2 separate regions of the Homo sapiens genome follow, and region 2 is linked to region 1. The links are contacts of gene promoters, found by promoter capture Hi-C in human tissues and cell types (Jung and others, 2019). All regions are on one chromosome and are shown on one strand. The core of a region is centred on a gene start or on the middle of the fragment in contact, and the rest is flanking DNA. Distances in the headings are between cores, read along the strand shown.

Region 1 (2,700 bases), core at 148-2,647:
CAGACTGATCTGCACAAGAGGGACTGAGCCTGGCTGCGGCCGCACCTGATGCCTGTGCACACCTGTCCCTGGTGGTCTCTCCTGTGGTGACTTCTTTTGCTCAAGGGTTCACAAGGGCAGCAGACTGATCTGCACAAGAGGGACTGAGCCTGGCTGCGGCCGCACCTGATGCCTGTGCACACCTGTCCCTGGTGCAGGCCCTTCCCCCGCAGCCCCGTGACCTTGTCCTGTGAGGCTCACGGTGCCTGCTCCTTCTCAGAGTCCTCATTTCTCCCTTTAACGCACGCCCTGTCAGCGCCTCCGTCTAGCCCGTGTCCTCCAGACCTTCGAGGTCAGGGGCCTCAATTCCTGGCACAGCCCCTCCACTCCAGGCCTCCCAGAAACAGACTAGAGCATCAGGATGTGCGCCGCCTGGGGTCCCACAGAGTGGTGCCCCCTTTTAGTGTCTTCTAGGCCCCTTAGTGACAGACTACAGAAAATACCTCTCAGGTCACAGGTCACCCCTCTTTGGTGAAGAGTCCATAGAATTCTCTGCTGCGCTTTGCAAGCACTTTCTCTTCTGCACGTTTGGAACCTACCCCGGCCTGTCGTGTCTTTCTCCTGGCCTCCTCGCGAGCCGAACCTACTGTCCGGTCCCGGGACCCCCTGCCCAGGGTCAGAGGGGCGCCTACCTAGCTCACGGTCTTGGGCCGGAGGGAATGGAGGAGGGAGCGGGGTCGACCGCTCAGCTGTCCGCCCAGTTTCGGAGGCGGCCACGCGAGGATCAACTGTGCAACGGGTGGGGCCGCGGCTGACCGTGGTGGTCGCGGGGGCTGAGGGCCAGAGGCTGCGGGGGGGGGGCGGCGGGATGAGCTAGGCGTCGGCGGTTGAGTCGGGCGCGGAGTCGGGGGCAGGGGGAGCGGGCGTGGAGGGTGCGCACGAGGTCGAGGCGAGTCCGCGGGGGAGGCGGGCAGAGCCTGAGCTCAGGTCTTTCTGCGTCTGGCGGAACGGGCCTGGGAGGGAGGTTTTGCCAGATACCAGGTGGACTAGGGTGAGCGCCCGAGGGCCGGGACGCACGCACGGGCCGGGTAGGATGGCGCTGGCGTCGATGCCCGCGCGCTTCAGGGCCTGGTCTGGCCGCCCCTCCATCCTTGTCGGTTTCTCGGGTCGCGGACCCCGCGCGGCGCCGGGCGATGCTGGCCTGCCCGTGGCCACCACCTCGCTTCATTCCCGTCTCTTTGGGCCGCCGCATTCGTCCACGTGCCCGTCTCTCCCTGCGCAAAATTCCAAGATGAGCAAATACTGGGCTCACGGTGGAGCGCCGCGGGGGCCCCCCTGAGCCGGGGCGGGTCGGGGGCGGGACCAGGGTCCGGCCGGGGCGTGCCCGAGGGGAGGGACTCCCCGGCTTGCGACCCGGCGTTGTCCGCGGTGCTCAGCGCCCGCCCGGGCGCGCCATGGGGAACCGCAGCACCGCGGACGCGGACGGGCTGCTGGCTGGGCGCGGGCCGGCCGCGGGGGCATCTGCGGGGGCATCTGCGGGGCTGGCTGGGCAGGGCGCGGCGGCGCTGGTGGGGGGCGTGCTGCTCATCGGCGCGGTGCTCGCGGGGAACTCGCTCGTGTGCGTGAGCGTGGCCACCGAGCGCGCCCTGCAGACGCCCACCAACTCCTTCATCGTGAGCCTGGCGGCCGCCGACCTCCTCCTCGCTCTCCTGGTGCTGCCGCTCTTCGTCTACTCCGAGGTGAGCCGCGTCCGGCCGCACGAGCATCCTCACCTGCTCCTCGGTTCCCCGTCCCTGTCCCTACGGAGGACCCGGCGCGACCCGGCCCCTTTCTGGTGCGGAGCTTCCAGCTGGGGCGGCGGCAGGGGCGCTGCGCCTTGTCCCTCGGCGATACACCCACCGCCGCCACCTCGCGACCTTCCACCCGCTGCGCTGTCTGTCCCCCGACCCTCGTTCCTCTTCTCCTTCCCCGTCTGTCTTGGCGTCTGTTATCCAGGAGATGCCCGTCCTTCTATCCAGGGACCCCGGAAACAGGCGACTTTGTCAAGCCCAGTCCCCTCCGTAGCTGGATTTCACCTCCAGGGCAGCCAGCTGGACAGACAGGCAGATGCAGGCTCAGCCCCCTGGCTGCCGTGGGACACACACACACACACACTGCCACAGCCACTGCCCACCACACACACCTAGTGCAGATGCTGGCACACCCCCAGAAGGAGGCTCACAGCTCGCAGGGGAGACCTGGGCTGGACAAAACCCAGGGGAGGGGAGGGTGTGTGGGGACCAGGCCCCTGCTGAGAACCCTGGGGGGAAGCCTGAGGGGGAATTGGGGGATGGAGCCCACACTCCACACCAGGTCTGGCCCTCGAGTGGGTCGGCCTTGGTGCCAGCCCCTCTGCGGCCAGAGAAAAGCAGCTTAGGGCTGAGCTGGAGACGCGGTGTCCCCGACTGTGGGGGAGGGGGACTCGAGGTTTCCCCTTGATGGACACAGTGAATCCAGGCGGCTGGGGCAGAGACCAGCAGCACGGGACACGCGTGACCTGTGCTCCTTTCGAGCCGCAGACGTCACAGTGACGACGTTTAAGCTCCTAATCTCCCCAAATCGGCGGGAAGGATTAGAGGGGCTGCCTGCTCCTTTGCCCTTGGAGAGAGTCACTCCACGTGGAGTCCTACGCTGGGCACTGGGCACGGTCTTCATATTTTTAATTATAATTTATCTTCAAGA
Region 2 (2,916 bases), core at 76-2,575, 270 kb after region 1:
TCTCTTTTACTTTATCTGTATCTTCTGGTCTTCCTGCACTAAACTTTTATTACACTGTTCACTTTCAGGTTCTAGGGGCCACCAACAAAAGTGATTCTACTTTCCGGCCGGGCGCGGTGGCTCACGCCTGTAATCCCAGCACTTTGGGAGGCCGAAGCGGGCAGATCACGAGGTCAGGAGATCGAGACCATCCTGGCTAACACGGTGAAACCCCATCTCTGCTAAAAATACAAAAAATTAGCCAGGCATGGTGGCAGGCGCCTGTAGTCCCAGCTATTCGAGAGGCTGAAGCAGGAGAATGGTGTGAATCCAGGAGGTGGAGTTCGCAGTGAGCCGAGATAGTGCCAGTGCACTCCAGCCTGGGCGACGGTGCGAGACTGTCTTTAAAAAAAAAAAAAAAGTGATTCTACTTTCTATCTTTCACTGGGGTTGGGGGCAGCGGCGGTGGGAGCTGAACCACCACCATAGCCCAGCCAGACTGTTAGTCCTTCATGAAGCTTTGGGACACTGCTGGGAAGAAGCTCTTGGCTAGTTTCACAGCTCTGGCAGCACAGACCCCTCTAGACCAGCTGAGAGGCCCACACAGCCTGGGCAGAGGCAGATACCTGACAGGTGGGGAGCTCAGCCCAACTCACTACCCAGCAGCTGGGCACATGGCCTTCCCCTTGGGTCACAGGCTCCTGAGTATATGGGAGCTCAGGCCCAAGAGGCTCCAGGAACCCCAGCCAGGCAGGTGCACCTGTCAGAAGATGCTGCCAGAGCCAGGCCTACCACAGTGCCTACCCTCCTACCCAAAAGACTCCCTGGCCAGGAACCTGTTTTCACTTCCTCTGAAACCGTCCCCTTGACCTGCTTTCTTCTGCAGAGGCACACGCTGCCCCACTTTGCCCTGTCTCTTCCCTGGGTGAGACTGGTGCTCCTGGTGCAGACTGAGGAGACTGTGGCTACCCCCAGGCAGGGAGTTTGCATGCTTTGGTACCCAATACACCCACAACACACCTGCATAGAAAGAACACGCTCCTGGAGCAAGATCAACCAGTGAAGCTCCCCCACCTAGGAGGCAGGGAGCCACAAGACAGCCTGACCTGCAGGCTTATGGGGAGTTAGGAAGGGAACTCACAGGGCAAGCACAGCAGCACCCAGTACATGGAGCCACAGGCAAAGGCAGTGAGTGCTTGAACAGCCACGGCAGTTCCGAGAGGCTGTGCAGGGGGAATAAGAAGGCCCAGGCACAGATCACCACCCTCTGCCCCGATCAACCTCTCCAGCCCCTCTCCTCAGTGATACATCCCAGAATCAGAACCAAGGGCAGCAGCCTGCTGCCACCTCCCCTTAGCCCCACTATCTTTCTGCTGCAGCTGAGGCTTGGTCTGAGTCAGCAACAGCCCCAGGGAAGGTGGGGAGGGTTCTGGCCATGGCACAGGGAAGACGGCCCAGAATCACTTGCCTGGCCAGGCTGAAACGGTGGCTGCCTCAGCTCCCAGGCACCCAGTCTTTGACCCCAGCCCATTCCATGACCACTGGCTCCTTCTCTGTCTTCTGGGTGGAAATCTGGGTCAGGGAGGAAGGAAAGGAATGAAAAACCAAACGGTGGTTCTCCAGGGGACTGGCCCAGGAGTAACTGGAGGGCACACTCAGGTACCCAGTGACCAACCACTATAGGGCTGGGTCTCTGCCCCTACCTGCCGTCCTGCAGATTTGAAACAGGGCCACTGTCCACCCACCTAGTGGCCCCTCTGCCTATGACCTCCCTGCCCCCCAACCTGTGATTTCACACTTCAGGGAAGGAAGAGGAAAGGGTGGAAGAGGAAGACAGTCCTGCCAGCATGTGTCCAGCAGAGGGGACACTAGGAGAACCTAACTGAACACAAGGCCAGGGTACTGCCTCTGTCCACTCGCGCTTAACTTGCCCGCTCTGTGATGGAGTGCTTGGATACAGGCTGCTCACAAATGCTGGGCTGCTTCTTTGACTTGCCATGGAACTTTCCAGACAACTGCCCCAGGGAGATGGTGTGTGTGATGTGTGAGGGGTGCTCACACTGCAACCAGGCCCTTGTCTGGGCTTTGGTACCTCTCCCGCTCCCCACTGCTCACCGGCCGCTCGGCTCTGAGGCCCGTGAGGACACTCTCCATCATGCTCTTCACATAACACAGACTCCCAGGTTCACACACACTGTGTTCCTGCATCAAACCGTTTCTTCCCCAAATGCCAATGACCTTCCCTTGGGCAGAACGGCCCCGCACACAAAGGGAATGTGTTGTGTTATGAAGAGGCACAGGCCCCGACCCTGGTCACCCAAAGGGGTCCCAGAAACCGCTCTGTAACAAGATAAGGTGGAGCGCTACTGCTCCCACTTTCCTGCGCTCCCAGTCCGTAGGTCCAGGACCTCCTCGGTGGTGTTGATGGAAATGATGGGAGTCACAGCAGGGGCTTTCCAATGCTTTTCATGGAGACCAGCAGTAAGAAATGCACTTTACGTCACAGCCCAGCACACGTGTATGTCATGTGTGCACATGTGTTGTGCATGTGTGTACATGTGTAGAGCGACAGCAGCCAATCAGAGCTAACTCTATTCTGCGATGGACGCACTGACAACTCCTGTTCTGTTGTGTTTTGAAGAACTAACTGGTGCATGGCGGCTCTGGCCTGTGATCCTAGCACTTTGGGAGGCCAGGAGTTTTTGACTGGTTTTGGCAACACAGCCAGACCTGGTCTCTACAAAAAATATTTTTCTGCCGGGCAGATCACCCCATCAGGAGTTCAAGACCAGCCTGGCCAACGTGATGAAACCCAGTCTCTAAAAAAGATACAAAAATTAGCTGGGTGCAGTGGTGTGCGCCTGTACTCCCAGCAACTCGGGAGACTGAGGCAGGAAAATCCCTTAAGCCCAGAAGCGGAGGTTGCAGTGAACCGAG

Evidence for each region. The method cuts DNA at HindIII sites, captures the fragments that hold promoters and counts their contacts. A contact is called where the count stands out against the background at its distance.
Region 2: a contact is called between a fragment that was not itself captured here and the fragment with the promoter of DRD4 in region 1, in 1 of the 25 tissues and cell types used here (lymphoblastoid cells).

The regions. Positions count from the first base shown.
Region 1 is chr11:635,872-638,571 of GRCh38, forward strand. It overlaps DRD4 (dopamine receptor D4), which reads left to right and starts at 1,398. Exons shown (of 4, transcript NM_000797.4): 1 at 1,398-1,718. The coding sequence starts at 1,434. RefSeq lists enhancers at 1-215, 216-749, 1,285-1,818, 1,819-2,353, 2,354-2,700. The HindIII fragment of the contact is 8,949 bases long and covers 1-1,465 here.
Region 2 is chr11:907,095-910,010 of GRCh38, forward strand. All of the region lies in intron 1 of CHID1 (chitinase domain containing 1), which reads right to left. Among named protein-coding and RNA genes, the nearest start is that of CHID1, 2.3 kb to the right of the region's middle. The HindIII fragment of the contact is 5,018 bases long and covers 1-2,916 here.